Regions from separate parts of the Homo sapiens genome. Here all the other regions are linked to region 2. The links are contacts of gene promoters, found by promoter capture Hi-C in blood cells and fetal thymus (Javierre and others, 2016). All regions are on one chromosome and are shown on one strand. Each heading gives the region's core, a stretch centred on a gene start or on the middle of the fragment in contact. The rest is flanking DNA. Distances are from core to core; before and after follow the strand shown.

Evidence for each region. Contacts are between HindIII fragments. The CHiCAGO score rates a contact against its expected background, and 5 or more counts as called.
Region 1: a contact is called between a fragment that was not itself captured here and the fragment with the promoter of PLEKHM3 in region 2, in 1 of 17 cell types (naive CD8 T cells). The highest score is 6.6, in naive CD8 T cells.
Region 3: a contact is called between a fragment that was not itself captured here and the fragment with the promoter of PLEKHM3 in region 2, in 1 of 17 cell types (total CD8 T cells). The highest score is 6.1, in total CD8 T cells.
Region 4: a contact is called between a fragment that was not itself captured here and the fragment with the promoter of PLEKHM3 in region 2, in 1 of 17 cell types (total CD8 T cells). The highest score is 7.2, in total CD8 T cells.
Region 5: a contact is called between a fragment that was not itself captured here and the fragment with the promoter of PLEKHM3 in region 2, in 3 of 17 cell types (naive CD4 T cells, total B cells and activated CD4 T cells). The highest score is 6.1, in naive CD4 T cells.

What each region holds. Positions count from the first base shown.
Region 1 is chr2:206,796,183-206,799,353 of GRCh38, reverse strand. FASTKD2 (FAST kinase domains 2) reads right to left here. Exons shown (of 12, transcript NM_001136193.2): 12 at 3,165-3,171. Among named protein-coding and RNA genes, the nearest start is that of MIR3130-1, 14 kb to the right of the region's middle. The HindIII fragment of the contact is 2,607 bases long and covers 97-2,703 here.
Region 2 is chr2:208,024,238-208,027,089 of GRCh38, reverse strand. PLEKHM3 (pleckstrin homology domain containing M3) reads left to right here and starts at 1,563. Exons shown (of 8, transcript NM_001080475.3): 1 at 1,563-1,701. The HindIII fragment of the contact is 3,995 bases long and covers 609-2,852 here.
Region 3 is chr2:206,770,843-206,773,753 of GRCh38, reverse strand. FASTKD2 (FAST kinase domains 2) reads right to left here. Exons shown (of 12, transcript NM_001136193.2): 4 at 2,464-2,572; 5 at 1,737-1,860; 6 at 1,434-1,573. Among named protein-coding and RNA genes, the nearest start is that of FASTKD2, 6.7 kb to the right of the region's middle. RefSeq lists an enhancer at 2,856-2,911. The HindIII fragment of the contact is 4,118 bases long and covers 1-2,911 here.
Region 4 is chr2:206,707,048-206,710,024 of GRCh38, reverse strand. DYTN (dystrotelin) reads left to right here. Exons shown (of 12, transcript NM_001093730.1): 3 at 2,522-2,723. Among named protein-coding and RNA genes, the nearest start is that of DYTN, 9.9 kb to the left of the region's middle. The HindIII fragment of the contact is 4,270 bases long and covers 1-2,977 here.
Region 5 is chr2:206,686,230-206,689,489 of GRCh38, reverse strand. The region is part of intron 9 of DYTN (dystrotelin); the gene reads left to right. It also overlaps the pseudogene VPS26CP1. Among named protein-coding and RNA genes, the nearest start is that of DYTN, 31 kb to the left of the region's middle. The HindIII fragment of the contact is 1,117 bases long and covers 1,187-2,303 here.

The DNA of each region.
Region 1 (3,171 bases), core at 151-2,650, 1.2 Mb after region 2:
GTCCCTCCTCAGTAAATTTCGATTCAGTATCACTGGGACAGGCCCAACAGTTTGTGGTTTTGTCAAGTACATGTGACTGTAATCACCAGGAAAGCTTGAGTAACACTGGTGCGATGATACAAGCATGAGCTCTGGGGTCAGAAGGACTTGGGTGCAGATCTGGCTCTGCCTTTTTTCTAGTTGTGCACCCCTAGGAAAGGCAATTAAGGCCTTGAGTATCAGTTTATTCATCTATAAAATGAATATTAGTAATCATTAATAACCACCAAACAGGGGTGTGAAGACTGAATGATATAATGGGTGTGAAATGCTAGCACAGTGCCTGGCACATAGTAGGCACTTAATACATGGTCATTACTATTGTTAACTTAATCACCCACTCAGCTTAATGAATTTGCCCTATGTGACTTTTTGTTATTTCTAAAAATTAAATCCACAGTGAAAGGATATGAGGATACATAAAATACACTATCATAACGTATATTATACTTCATTAAAAAGTAAACAACTAAAGATCCTTAGGAAAAGTGATAGATGATAGATAGCCAGATAGGTAAATTTTAGGATAGGAAAATGTTCTAGAAATGAAAAACCAAACATTTAAAACAGTTTAACACTCAGGAGAATAACAAGTTTCTAGAAATACACACACACACACACACACACACACACACACACACACACACACACACACTGATACAAAAGGTAGAAACAATCCAAGGGCCCATCTGCAGATAAACAAAATGTGGTATATACATACAATAGAATATAATTCCATCTTTTTAAAAGGAAGGAAATTCTTTTTTTTTTCTTTGAGACAGGGTATCATTCTTTCCCCAGGCTGGAGTGCAGGGGCATGATCATGGCTCACTGCAGGCTCAATCTCCTGGGCTCAAGCCTTTTTAATTTTCTTGTAGAGATGGGGGTCTTGCAATGTTACCCAGGCTGGTCTTCAACTCTCAGCCTCTCCATCTTAGCCTCCCAAAGTGCCCGGGCGAAAGAAATACTGCCACATGCCATGACACGGATGAGCCAGAAAACACTACGCTAAGTGAAAGAAGCCAGTCAGTAAAGAATAATACTGAGCAATTCCACTCTATAAGGTGTCTAGAGTAGTAAAATTCATAGAGACAGAAAGTAAATGGTGGTTGCCAGGCACTGGGGGAAAGGGGAAATGGGAGTTACTGTTTAATGTGTCAGTATTTCCGTTTTGCAAGTTGAAAAGATTCTGGAGCTGGAGGGTAGTGATTGTTATATAACAATGTGAATGTACTCACTGCCACTGAACTGTACATTTAAAAATGGTTAAGATGGTAAATATTATGTTGTGTATTTTATCACAATTTTAAAAAAAATTAAGAAAATCAAGATGATATCAAATCACAGTTAAATATGAGTTTCAGAAATAGCTTGTTCGGTTTGTGTTGCTACAAAGAGCCCCATGTGAGTGAAATACTTCTAAGTGTACAGATTACATCCTTTGGAAAAATGAGCAAGTAAATTCACAAGTAATTTTGCATCTGTATTCTCAAACAATGTGACCGCACTGCCTTAGTTGCCTGTTTTTCTTTCAAACTATTCATTTACAAGATCACTCAAGAAATGTTACTCAGCTAAGTGGGAGGCTATGACTGGAAAACCTGTTCTGCCTTAACCCTGGCCTGGGGGATGCTTTGAAAAATGGCTGTGGTGCATGGAGCACTCTAAGGAAAACACTGAGGGGTGTTATCATCCTGTCTTAAGGCACTGTGATCTGTGCAGAGCTCTGCCCTGGGGCAGCTGGGCAAAGAGCAGGTGCATCCAAGGCTTGGCCTGTGGCCTGGATGACGTGGAACCCCCGTTACAATAGCCTGCAACAGCACAGGAGTAGTGGCTGTCGGGGGAGCTTCATCTGAACCCAAGCTGGTGAACGGGGCTTTGCCCCTCTGTTTTATTTATCTTTAATTGATTTTCTTTAACACTAGGTTTTCTTCAGGCCTCACATTTAATAAGATGGAGTATTTTTCTGATGAGTGTAAGCAGCATCTGAGCACTTCAAAGGTTCTCGAATAGAATAGCATTGGCTCTTTGTCTAATTTAACTTAAAAGTTATGACGAGGTGAAAGCTCATTTATATATTTAATATATTTCATGTCTTTCTTATTTATTTATTTTTTGAGACAGAATCTCACTCTGTCGTCCAGGCTAGAGTGCAGTGGCATGATCTCGACTCACTGCAAGCTCCACCTCCCAGGTTCACACCATTCTCCTGCCTCAGCCTCCCAAGTAGCTGGGACAACAGGCACCCGCCACCACGCCCAGCTAATTTTTTGTATTTTTAGTAGAGACGGGGTTTCACCATGTTAGCCAGGATGGTCTTCATCTCCTGACCTCGTGATCCGCCCGCCTCGGCCTCCCAAAGTGCTGGGATTACAGGTGTAAGCCACCGTGCCCGGCCTATTCTGCATTTTTTAAGCAAGGAAGCAAGCAAGCAAGGAGGAGGGAAGGAGATGGATTGCCTGAAATAATTGGGTGAAAGTTTGATGCTATCTTCCCTTCCCTCTTTAGGATTATGTGGCCCCTGGTGTAAAGAGATTGCCTGAGAGGAGCCTGGCAGAACTGTAGTGAAAGCATGGGGAAGTGTGGTGAAAACTGGATGCAAGGAGAACAAATGGAAAATAAAGGCAGGTGTGTTGGTTTCTCCCTTCCTCTGCCTCAGAAGCTTTATTGCTGCCTAGAGAAACCTGCTCAGGGTGGGGTGACATGTAAAACCAGCCAGCAGTATACACAGGTGTTCCTAGTGGGTCTTAATAACATTAAGTGTCTGTAACCCTGAGTGAAATTCTTTTTAAATTCTTTTTTCTTTTTTGAGACATGGTTTCACTCTGATATCCAGGTTGGAGTGCGGTGGCACAATCTTGGCCCACTGCAGCTTCGACCTCCTAGGCTCAGGCGATCCTCCCACCCCAGCTTTCTGAGTAGTTGGGACCACAGGTGCATGCCACCACACCCAGTTAATTTTTCTATTTTTTGTACAGGTGGGGTTTTGCCATGTTGCCAGGCTGGTCTCAAACTCCTGGGCTCAAACGATCCTTCTGCCTTGGCTTCCCAAAGTGCTGGGATTACAGGTGTGAGCCACTGTGCCCGGCCCTGAGGGAAATTCTTTAAAAGCAAAATTCACAAACTTTTAAA
Region 2 (2,852 bases), core at 314-2,813:
CCAAGCAAGTGACTTGAGAGACCAAGCACCTGTTACCTGCTTCTTAAAGAGCAAAGAGAAATTAGCCAGCCTAAGTAAGAGGATGGGCCAGGAGTGAGAACTCTCATCAGAGGGAATCACATGTACAAAGTCCTGAGGCAAAAGAGAATACTGCAAATATTCTCTTTTGGTAATTAAAACAAAACAAAACAAAAAATGTACCTCTGGCCAGGTGAGGTGGCTCACACCTGTAATCCCAGCACTTTGGAAGGCAAGGAAGAAGGATTGCCTGAGGCCAGGAGTTCAGGATCATCCTGGGCAACACAGGGAGACCTTGCCTTTACAAAAAAAAAAAAAAGAGAAAGAAAGAAAAAAGAAGTTAGCCACGTTGTGGTGATGCGTGCCTGTAGTCCTAGCTACTCAGGAGGCTGAGTTGGGGGGATCCCTTGAACCCAGGAGTTCAGGGCTGCAGTGAGCTATGATCGTGCGACTGCACTCTGGCCGGGGCACAGAGTGAGATCCTGTCTCTAGCAAAACAGAAAAAAAAGTACCTCAAATTGCAGGGTTTAAAGAAAGCTTATTTAAACTTTGAATATCAACCAAAGGAAATTTTTTCTTAACTCAAAGCTTAAAGATTTGCTTATTAATCTTCTGGAGGGTGGGAAGGTGGGAAGAGGAATCAGAGTTTTAGATTTCTGTTTCATCCCTGACCCCTTTGACCTTTTTTTTTTTTTATCATTCCTTTGTTCATTCATTTATTCAGATATATATACATTGGGCCTGTGCTAGGTGCCTACTAGATGGTGGTGAGTGAAACTGAAATAGTGCCTGCCCTCAGGGAGTTTATAGGTGAGATGGGTGAGCGTGGGAAAACCAATAAAACTGATAAATAAGTGTGTACTTATAAAGTGAGAAAATGGCTAAGAAGTGTGCTATGATGGAAAACAGACAGGAAACTGCAAGGAAGGTCTGTCCAATCAGACCAGCATATCCCTGCAAAGCGACCACAGTCACTGCAGGTGGGATGTGGGCGGTCTTACCAGGCAGTCCTGCCCGCGTGCACACACACGCACACCCTATTTTGCTGGGAATCCGCAAGTGGGGGTGAAGACCTCACCTCAAAACCACCCCTTTTCAACCTGCGTAGGAAAGGACAGTGAAAACGGATTTTCACTGCAGCCCCAAAACCGGAAATGAGAAGCAATCTCCAGAATAGTCCCACTTTTGGAAAGAACTTATTTGAGTAATTAATTCCCTTAGACAAGGGAGCTGCTAAAAACCAGCCCGATCCTGACATGTTCTAAGTGACATTTTCCAATCGCAAACACCCATTTTGGCGTTGGGTGGAGCAGTGAGGAGACTCCACGACACACGCCATTGCTTTCACAATGTGTACAAGAGGAACTGTATATAAGAAAGCAAAGAAATAAGGAGGCCTGGCGGGTGCGGTCAGGCCTTGCCTAGCTGCCGGGTCCCTCGGGCAGGAAAGACTCGTCCTCGCGGCCTGGAACCTTGTGTGTCCGGCTCTGGCTGCCCGGGCCGCCGGCGGAAGCATTTCAGAGTGGGACCGCGAGAAGCCGCTTGTAAACAGAGCCGGGCCGGGATGGTCAGCGCCCGGGCGGGCTGTCACCGTGAGGCGGGCGGCAGGCTGCGGGAGTCAAGCCCCTCCAGGAGCGGACTGAAGGCCCCGCAGGTGAATGGAGAGTAGCAGCCGGGGCCCAGGTGAGCATCCGTCTGCTTCTGTGCTGCCTGGCCGGCCAGTTTGGGGGATGGGGTGGGGACGACTGCATTGTAAATATCCGAGCAGCTCCCAGGGATAGCAGTGATTTTGCTGTTTCTTGCATGCTCAGGTTTTTATTACGTGCTGGAGATTGTACCACACTGCAATGGCTAATGGGTGAGGGGAGATTACATGATGCATTGTCTGCTTATTTTTGTGAATCAGGTATGTAATAGGAGGAGAAAGTAGTTGAAATAGTAGGTGATCTTGTTGAGTGCGTTATTAGTATCCCTGCCATCCCCGCCTGGGGATTATAAAACCAAACCCCAGCAGAGCTTTTAACCTACATCAGGCTGGGGCTTCCAGAAAACGATTGTTCTTTCTGTCGACTCTGTCCGTTTTTAATGTATAGTAAATGACACCACATGACTGATGACAAGCATGGTTTGGTCTTGTAGGAAAGAATTATTAAGCTAAAAAATCAAGATAAGAAAATCTCACACTCATCCCTTAAACAAAAATAAATTACTACTGAGATATATATTTGGATGACAAATTGAGACTGGTCTGGATGTATACCTTGCAAAGCAAGACAAATTTGAATTTACCAGGTTAAACTGAGATTGAGCCATGCTGTTGTAAACTTATTTAGAAGTTTATTTCTCTCTTCTTTTTTCTTCCTTGGAAGGGACCAGAGAGAAACAGCTGAATTTTTTTCTCTATATTTTAAGTAATCGTAGTGAGTTGTGATTTGTATTTATAAAGTATTTTATTATAAAATACTACATGTAAATTATAATTGGCATACTTAAAATACAAGGCAGTTTTTGACTGACTGACTTCAAGAAAATGCCTTAACAAAAGCTGGGCTATATATCTAGTCTCTAAAAATATCAGTAGACATTTGTAACCTTGGTCACATAGTCTTTTAGACAGGAGATGAATATTAGGTTAAATTGCACCTACAATAGATAGATATACATAGAAGAAATGATACTAATTCCTGATGAGTTTTTCTTTACAATGAATATTTTTACAATGTCATGGTTTATAGCAAAAACTATAAAGCCAGACTACTTCAGTTTGAATTCCTGCTTGGTCACTTCCTAGTTGTGTAATCTTGGGCAGTTTACTTAGCGCTTCTGTTTCCTAA
Region 3 (2,911 bases), core at 100-2,599, 1.3 Mb after region 2:
AACTGAAACATTATGATTAAAATAAACTTTCAAGTTCACCTCCAATTTCCTTCTCAATCTTTCTTACTTAGGATTATTACTTCTCTTTCTATAACCAATTTCCACAGTAAACTCAATATTTACCTTACTCTCCAAAATAAACTGAACCTAGAGATCTAACAGTTATCACCTATTTCATTGCAAAAAGAAGTTTTTACCAGGTGCTTCATTAAATGTTTATATTCTTAACACAGCTCCTGATTTTAAAGGCTTTTACTCTGGATAAAACAATGGACATGACCATTAAGTAGTGACATTTTATTCTTCAAAAACCCCAAGCCTGTCACATCACCCATCTTTATTATTTGAAATCTAACAAGAACAAAGTATAAACACGGAAATCATGCTAAATATCTAACAAAAGTACCATACAACCCTTTTTTTTTTTTTTTTTTTTTGAGACAGAGTTTTGATCTTTATTGCCCAGGCTGGAGTACAGTGGCACAATCTCAGCTTACTGCAACCTCCACCTCCCAGGTTCAAGTGGTCCTCCTGCCTCAGCCCCCCTAGTAGCTGGGATTACAGGGACACGTCACCATGCCCGGCTACTTTTTGTATTTTTAGTAGAGATGGGGTTTCACCATGTTGGCCAGGCTGGTCTTGAACTCCTGACCTCAGGTGATCCACCCACCTTGGCCTCCCAAAGTGCTGGGATTACAGGCGTGAGCCACCGCGCCCAGCCCATACAACCCTTTTAAAACGAAAAAGAAGAGCAAATTTTTGTTTCAAATAGAAAGATGACCAAAGGATAGAATAGTATACAGATTGTCCTTGACTTACGGTGGGGTATATCCCAACAAACTCACCATAAATTGAAAATATTTTAAGTCAAAATGCATTTAATACATCCAACTTACTGAACATCATAGCTTAGCCTAGCCTACTTTAAACACGCTTAGAACACTTACATTCACCTATAGTTGGGCAAAATGAGTTAACAAAAAGCCTATATTATAATAAAAGTGTTGAATATCTCAAGTAATTTATTGAATACAATATGCATTGTTTACCCTCATGATTGCACAGCTGATTGGGAGCTGCGACTTGCTGCCACTGCTCAGCATGAAAAGAGAGCATCATACAACATATCACTAACCCAGCAAAACAACAAAATTCAAAATTCAAAGTATGGTTTCTACTGAATGCGTATTGCTTTTGCAACATCAAACAGTCAAAAAATATTAAGTCAAGCCATCCTAAGTTGGGGACTATTCATATTAGCAAGTAGCCCCCAGACAGGAATAATAAGGAGCTAATTTTTCAAAAGTCAATTCAGCATTGGAATATTTTGGTATCTTAACTACTATAAAGGTGAAAGAGAAATACTTAAAATGCTACATGAATTAGTGTTTTAAAAGTTTGTGAGGCTTATTCTAAATTGTTAATGTACTCACTTTTCTGAACTTCCAGATGTCGAAAGTTGCAGCCACATAATCTGCAAGTCCCTTGAAGAGATCCAAATTATGGTACTGGAGGTCTTTGCAGGACTGCAATATGTTGATCATTATTCTTAAAGGACACCCATGGATATTATCTTGAAGAATGAGTTAAATAAACAAACAAAAATTACCTGATTGTTTTGAATACAACATGCTTTATTCTTTTTTCATATAAAAGCAAAGTTTTTAAAACAAAACAAAAATAGTCTAAAACAGAAGCTCAGGTATTGCAAATGATGAAAGAAAAATTCCTCTTACCTAGGACCACCTTACTGCATTCATCCAGGAGTATAAGAGATCGGTGATTCATGGCAGCTAGTACTTCAAACATGTGTTGGCTATTCAAAACAGAAAATCTGTCTAATTCCCTCAAGGCTTTCATCTAAAGAAAAAACAAATTTTAATTTAATTTACTATCTGTGACAAAATAAATTAAACTTTTATTTTTATTGAGACAGGGTCTTGTGCTGTCACCCAGGTTGGAGCCTCAACCTCCCAGGCTCAAGTGATCCTCCTGCCTCAGCCGCCCATGTAGCTGGGATTACAGGCATGCACCACCTACAGGCATGTACCACCACGCCTGGCTAATTCTTTGATTTTTTTTTTTTTTTTTTTTTTTTTTGCAGAGACAGGGTCTTGCTCAGTCACCCAGGCTGGTCTCAAACTCCTGGGATCAAGAGATCTCCCTGCCCTTGACATCCCAAAGTGCTGGGATTACAGGTGTGAGCCACCATGTCTGGCCTAAACATTTATTTTTAAACAAAAAGGATGAAGTTTGGGTAATATGACCCAGACAGATAAATAAATATACATGTATATATATACAGATAAATAAATATAAGGGTACTTCTATTCATTCACTTTAGTGAAGCTAAACCTAAAAGCCCAGCAATGTCCTCCTAGAAAATTGACTTCAGGCAGTGATAGCAGGTTATAAGAAAGATTTTTTCAAATCTCATCCACTAGAGAAAATTCATGTGTTTACCTCCAGTTTCCTCTTAAGAGCAATCGGTGCATCTTTTCCAATACACTTCATCACAACTTGTAATGTGAAGACATCTTCTATTTTCCAAACTTGCTGATCAACTAGTATTCTGTTATCAAACACAATAAATATTAAAATCATAGAATCTTCAAAGCAGAAGAAAAATCTTAAAATTTCATTTGGTCCAGCCCCTTCTTACAGGCAAGGATTATGAAGCCCAGAGAAATGATCTACCTGCTTGAGAGAGTGTAAGTAGTTAAAGATCGAGACCCAATCTATTAATAGTGCTATTTTCTCTCACATTATTGTGCTGTCTTTACTAAAGAACAAATTATGTCAGGAGATTATAGTAACATATCCTATGCATAGTCAATGTCAAAGGGAGTTAAGTTTTACTCTCACTAATCTATGACATTAGATCATTTATATCAATTTTATAAATCCCTTT
Region 4 (2,977 bases), core at 225-2,724, 1.3 Mb after region 2:
CTCGAGAATTCCCTGAGAACTGCCCCTTTTTGCAGTAAATTTATATCTGATTGAATGTATGGTTTTCTTTTCTTTTCTTTTCTCCTACTGTTATCTAGGCAAAATAAGGTAAAATGTTTTTACTAAAACATGTATCCTGTGAAAATTTTCCAAGGTGAAAAATAAACTGGGTCCAAGCTATGAAACACATCAGGCATTCAGCATATCTAAAGTTATTGATTTCTCACTGCATGAAAGAAAAATCACTTCACGTAAAATGATTTCTGAAATTTATCATATCAGACCTAAGAGAAGTTATGTTATATATATGACATTTCTACTGAAGGCTGACATTTAAAAATATTTTTCCTCCTGCCTAAAAAGTTATATAGGGCAGTGGTTTTCAAATTGGGCTTCACAAAATATATGTGAATGTAGGGTAGGGCAAAAAAGAGTTAGCCAGGTGGGAAGAGGAGTTGCAAGCAAGGTGGGACGATTCAAAGACCACATCCTCAGCAGGAACAACTCCATCCTTCTCTATTTTCCATACCGTGTTTGCTTGTATGTGTGTGTGTGTGTGTGTGTCTGTGTGTGTGTAAGCTGGGGTCTCACTCTGTCACCCAGGCTGGAGTGCAGTGGAGGGATCTCAGCTCACTGCAACCTCTGCCTCCCAGGCTGAAGCCATCCTTCCACCTCAACCTCCCGAGTAGCTGGGACCACAGGCGTGAGCCACCACACCCTGCCAATTTTTTGTATTTTTAGTAGAGACAGGGTTTCGCCATGTTGCCCGGGCTGGTCTTGAACTCCTGAGCTCAACTGATCTGCCCACAGTGGCCTCCCAAAGTGCTGGGATTACAGGCATCAGCCACCGCGCCTGGCCTTATACTGTGTTTCTGTATTAGGTTCCTTTGAAGAAGAAATTTTTGGTTTTAAAAACAGTTTTATGTAGATTACTGCTCTAGATAAAGAAACTCACTTATAACTATTATTTATTATTCCAGGAACAAACAAAAAGCTAAAAATTTACCCCCAATTATGCATTTTCCTGGAGAATTTCTCCCATTAGAGAAAGTTAGCAGCAATTGTTCACATGTCCCAGTCACGAATGCCTGAGTATGTTCCGTAGCGTAATTTGTGGATGCACAGTTTTCAACTTTTTGTTATCTCTGGCATCAGAAACAGTGAATATAAATAACACTCATGGGAAATATTAACAATACACAAAATCAGTGGTTGAAAAATGTTACCTAGAAAAGATATCCAAACAAAAATTTAAAAACAGAAAATCCCAAACACTGAGATAAAGCATAACATGAGCTCCAAATAGGAAGATCGGGGACACATCGCTGTATAAATCTTGTGGTGAGATTAATGGACACCACTATTATCTGGTTTGGTGTAATATAGAACTCTCAGCAGGAGATGAAATCGGCCTGTGTTCAGAATGCCTGGCTGAGGTGACAGGTTTTAACGATAAAAGAGTTTACAGCCTTCACCACCTGCAGCCAGGTTTTTATTTAAGTCACATTCTGAAACTTGTTCCTCTGTTCCTTAGACTCTCCTCTTAAAAGCAATATCAGAGAACAAATAAAAATTTTTATTATACTTGCTAGATTTCTTATCTGAGGTTGATTTACGAAGTAGAGAGAAACCCAGGGTTTTATGGTTTCACAGGCTGAAGCGTTTTAAATGCCAGGAGCTCTTGGCGCTCTTGATATCCCCACCTCTCAGATGGTGCAAGTGGCTGTTTATTAATTTTGTCTGTCATCCTCTCTCTGCAAGAAGCTATGGGGTTAGCTCTATTACATTCTTGTTTCTATTCATTGCCTTGTAAAAATTTTAGGAGAAGGTGGTTAAAAAATATTCAGTATAAGAAATAAACCATTATTTTTTGTAAGCAGCTGTAGTTTTATTAAGTGCCTTCTCTAGATAATAATACTGATGGAACCAAGATTGTTAACAGTGGTATTACTGAGTTGCAGAATTCTCAGACTCTTTAGCCTAAAGATCTTTACAGAAGAGTAACTGCTCTTTTATGAAGATCACTGTTTTGTATTTAACTACGGCAATTGCTTTTCAACACACCATATTGCTTCTGAAGCTGGGCTGCAGACAAGAAAAACTATATTTGAACAGGAAAGGTAAATTTATTCAATCCACTTAATGAAGAGTATAAAAATGTTTTCCCCAACTTTTTACCACAGTGTCATAACTTTCTTGGAAAGCGTATTTTTCGTTTCTCACTTCCCTTTTTAACTTCTTTCTATAAAACAACATCCTAGAAACTGTACTGGTAATAATGTTACAACTATGCTTTACTAACAGATGCACCTTTCCAAAATCAAATGAATCGCTAGAATAGTAACGCCTGAAGTATACACAAGGAATATATGTCCAAATAGTAGTCATATTTCATTCCCCTTAAAAGAAAATAGCGACCATAAAAAGTCTTAATTATAAAACACCAAATGACATTTGCTTTATTTGAAGCCTTTTGTTCCCATCAGAAAATAAGGCTCAATTCTTCATTTGCTTCCTACAGTGGACTTGATTGACAGCTCCCTGATTCAGCAGGTCCTACTGCGTCCAAGTTTCTGGGAAGCTCGCAAGCACTCCCTTTCTGTGCAGCAACTTTCTCAGGCACTCCAAGAGCTGTTTCAGAAGGCCAGGGAGGAAAACCCAGGACAAGTGCATCCCAGAGCTCCGGAACTCACTCTGAGCCTTCTCACGACAATGTACAACAGGTGAGGGTGTGGACGTCGCGCTGTGACCTCAAAGGCAAAGTTTAGTTTCCAGTGGTCATTTACCATTTGGTGCTGGCTAATATTTGCTTGAGGTTTGGTATATAAGAAGTCTTCTTTGTTTGTTTTTCACAAATTTATTCCTCAGGAGTAGAACAAAGGAGTAAATGCCCATCGGCTTTAGGAATATAAATGACCCATGGATAGCAAAAAGAGGGAGAGAATTCCACATTATTCTTTCCTTCAGACAAATTCAC
Region 5 (3,260 bases), core at 496-2,995, 1.3 Mb after region 2:
TAACATTCTTATGTAATAATTTTCAGTGTACCCTAGACTTTGATGAGTTCAGAAATTCTGATTTGTGGCTCATCTAGGAGAAAAGAATGTGGAATATTACTAAATCACAATGTAATAATAGTAAAAAACACATCTTTGATATCTATTATGTTGGCACACTAGCACTGACCATCTTCTAAGAGATTAATGGTTATGGCCAAGTGATAATATTGAATTCGTTCAATGATTCAGCAAACTATCTGCATGGTAATAAGCCTTCTCCCTTTTGATGTGGTTTTATTTCCTTTACACATGATAGTTTGCACTGAGAATACTTTCATTTACAAAACCAGAACTGAAAGTTAGGTGCCAAATATCATCACTCTTATTAAATATTTCAGGAAGTTCTTGAAAACATAGTTAAAAAGAAAATTAAACTGCAGAAAAATAACAGACAGAATTACTTCTCTTTGTAGCTAATTTAATTGTGAATTACTAAGAAACCCCAAGTAACTAGCAAAAATTACTAGAATTAATAGGCTTCAAATGATGGTGGAAAAATAAAATAAACATATACAAAATTCTTCACTCTACTAGCAATAACCAGCTATAAATTTTGTAAGAATCTCATTCAAAATACATGTAAAAATTATTTTTAAAAGAAACTACAAAAAAGTTTAACAAAAAAGATACAAGACCCAAATAAAATTATAATATTTTATTGAGTACAGAAAACAAGTCCTGAACAAAAGGAAAAAATGCCAAATTTCTAAATGAGAAGACTAGCATAAGAATGTACCTGCTCCAAAAATTAATAGCTGATTTTTGTTATTTGCAGATTCAATACTTACAAATTTGCCTACTTGCAAAAATTTATTTGTAACCCTAAAATTAACACTCCTGGTGCTTTTTCAGTATTTGCAGACATAAGCAGAGTGGCAAAAAAATTTTGAGTTGCCTGATGCACGTGTTCCCAGCTGAGGTCAAACCAGATAGTGCTCTGTGTTACTGTTTCAGCCCTCATTCTATAAGCAAGTGTCCTTTTCGTGTCTATTTTGTGTCTTGTTTTTTTATATTTGTGCTTTTTGTTGGTGATTTTACTTTGGCAAATGGCCCCAAAGCACGGTACTGAATTGCTGTCTAGTGTTCCCAAGCACAGCAAGGCTACGATGTGCCTTAATGAAAAAATACACACGTTAAATAAGCTTCATTCAGGTATGATTTATATTGCTGTTGACCATGAGTTTAATGCTAATGAATCAACAATATATATTTAAAAAGCATCTTTATACAGAAACACATAAAACAAGGTTGTGCATTGATTGGTTGACAAAAATATTGTGGCCAGAGGCTTGCAGGAACCTAACCCTGTATTTTCTCTAGGAACAATGGGTTCAGTATTTCCTAATTCACTGTTCATGGTAGCCTTATAGAGCATAATCTACTGTATTTAAATTTAATGCATTTCCAGATAGAATCACAAGGTTTTCTAAATAGGATAAAATAATTTTGAAGGTATGTTGGAAGAATAGTTGTACAAGAATAGTAAAATTATGAGACTGAAGAATAGTGAGAGACATTAATATCTGAAGAACAGATGTTAATACAACAGATATTAACACTTACTATAAAACTACTATGACCAAATAATATAGTATAAAACGGGAATGAACATGTAGGTCTAAGGATGAGAATACAAAATATAATAATTGATCTAAGCATATATGGGAACCTAATATATGATAAAGGTGATATTTCAATTCATGGAAAAATAATGCATAATTGGCTATCCATCTGAAAGGAAAATTGGCCCTTATTTTGCCCCATATACTAAAACAAATTCCAAATTGATTGAAATTTAAATGTAAAAAGAATTTAAAATAAATATTAGAAAAAAGAACATCTCCTAAGGAAGAAAGAAAAACAAAAAATCATGAAGGAATAGACAGATATATATGATAGCATGTAATTTTAAACATTTTGTTATGGTAAATGATAGTATAAACAAAATTAAAAATAAGCCCTAGACTTAGAAAAATATTTTCGGTAATAAGATAAATGATGCTATTAAAAGGGTCCCTGAAAAATTGATAAGAAAAACTTGATGTGAGGTCAGAAGTGTTGGCTGCTGTGGAGAATTCAAAACAGGGACCTCCCTGGACATCAAGATGGAAGAGCAAATAGTTTCTCATGCTGGAGAAATGCTCTCCAGTGTGGTGGTCGTATCTTGTAAGGATTCAGTCCCACATCAAGTAGTGTCTTTGACAATGGAAGGAATTGCAATCCCCCAGCTCAGTGCCAAAAGTGTGGGCAGTTTTGAAGCTTTTTATAATTCCATTAAACCTATCCAGATTATCAACAGTGCCATAGAAAGGATGAAGCCAGGGAAATTTCCCTATGGCAAAACAAATTTATTTCGCATTTCTTCTGTATGTGAGGGGTAACAAAGTTCTGTATGAGACTTATTATCAGACATTCAGTATACACTACGCTGTGACATGAGGCAGTCTCTGTTGACCAAGGACTTGACAAAGGCCGGTGAATTTACCATCCACTCTGCTCCTCAGGAGGGGAAGTTGACTCCAAGTCCTGTGGACTTCACAGATTATACCTGCAACCTTACAGAATATCAAAGAGAGAGCCTTGCTCCCCAGATTTCTCATTCGAGAACACCCCAACTCAATGAATTGTGTCATCGTGCAGCTGCTTACAGGAGAGCTGGTGGTGAAAAGGCATGGGGCTGCAACTGGTGCACATGGAGACCTGTGGGTGTGCAAAAAGCTATGCCAATGATGCCACAGAGTTTCCTTATATTCAGATGCCCATGGGGACATTTGTAGGGGCCTCTCTGTCCCTATATACATGGTCTTCTCCAGGCTGTTTACCTGCCGCATGCTGAAGACCAACTTCAAAGTGGAATTTGAGGCCACCATCGACATGCGTCTTCATGCTAACCACCTGGTCACAGAGAACTTCCTATTGCAGCTCTGCAGGACTCAGCCCAGGAGGAGGGAAGCACAGAAAACAGGGGTGGCCTTGTGGATATCCTGCTGGTTATCGTTCATGGGGAACTAAAGCCAGCAGTATATACTTGTTTTTGTGATTATTCTGTATCAGAAATGAAATGGACTCCTTAAATTACAATTATTTTTCCTCCTCATTTCTTCGAGGCTTCTACTTCCAAAAGTCACCTTTAATCATATCTTTTCTTTGAAATTCAACAGAATTTCTTAATGCTGTTTGCAAGATCATTTCACAGAAAACGTTTCCTGTGACTTACC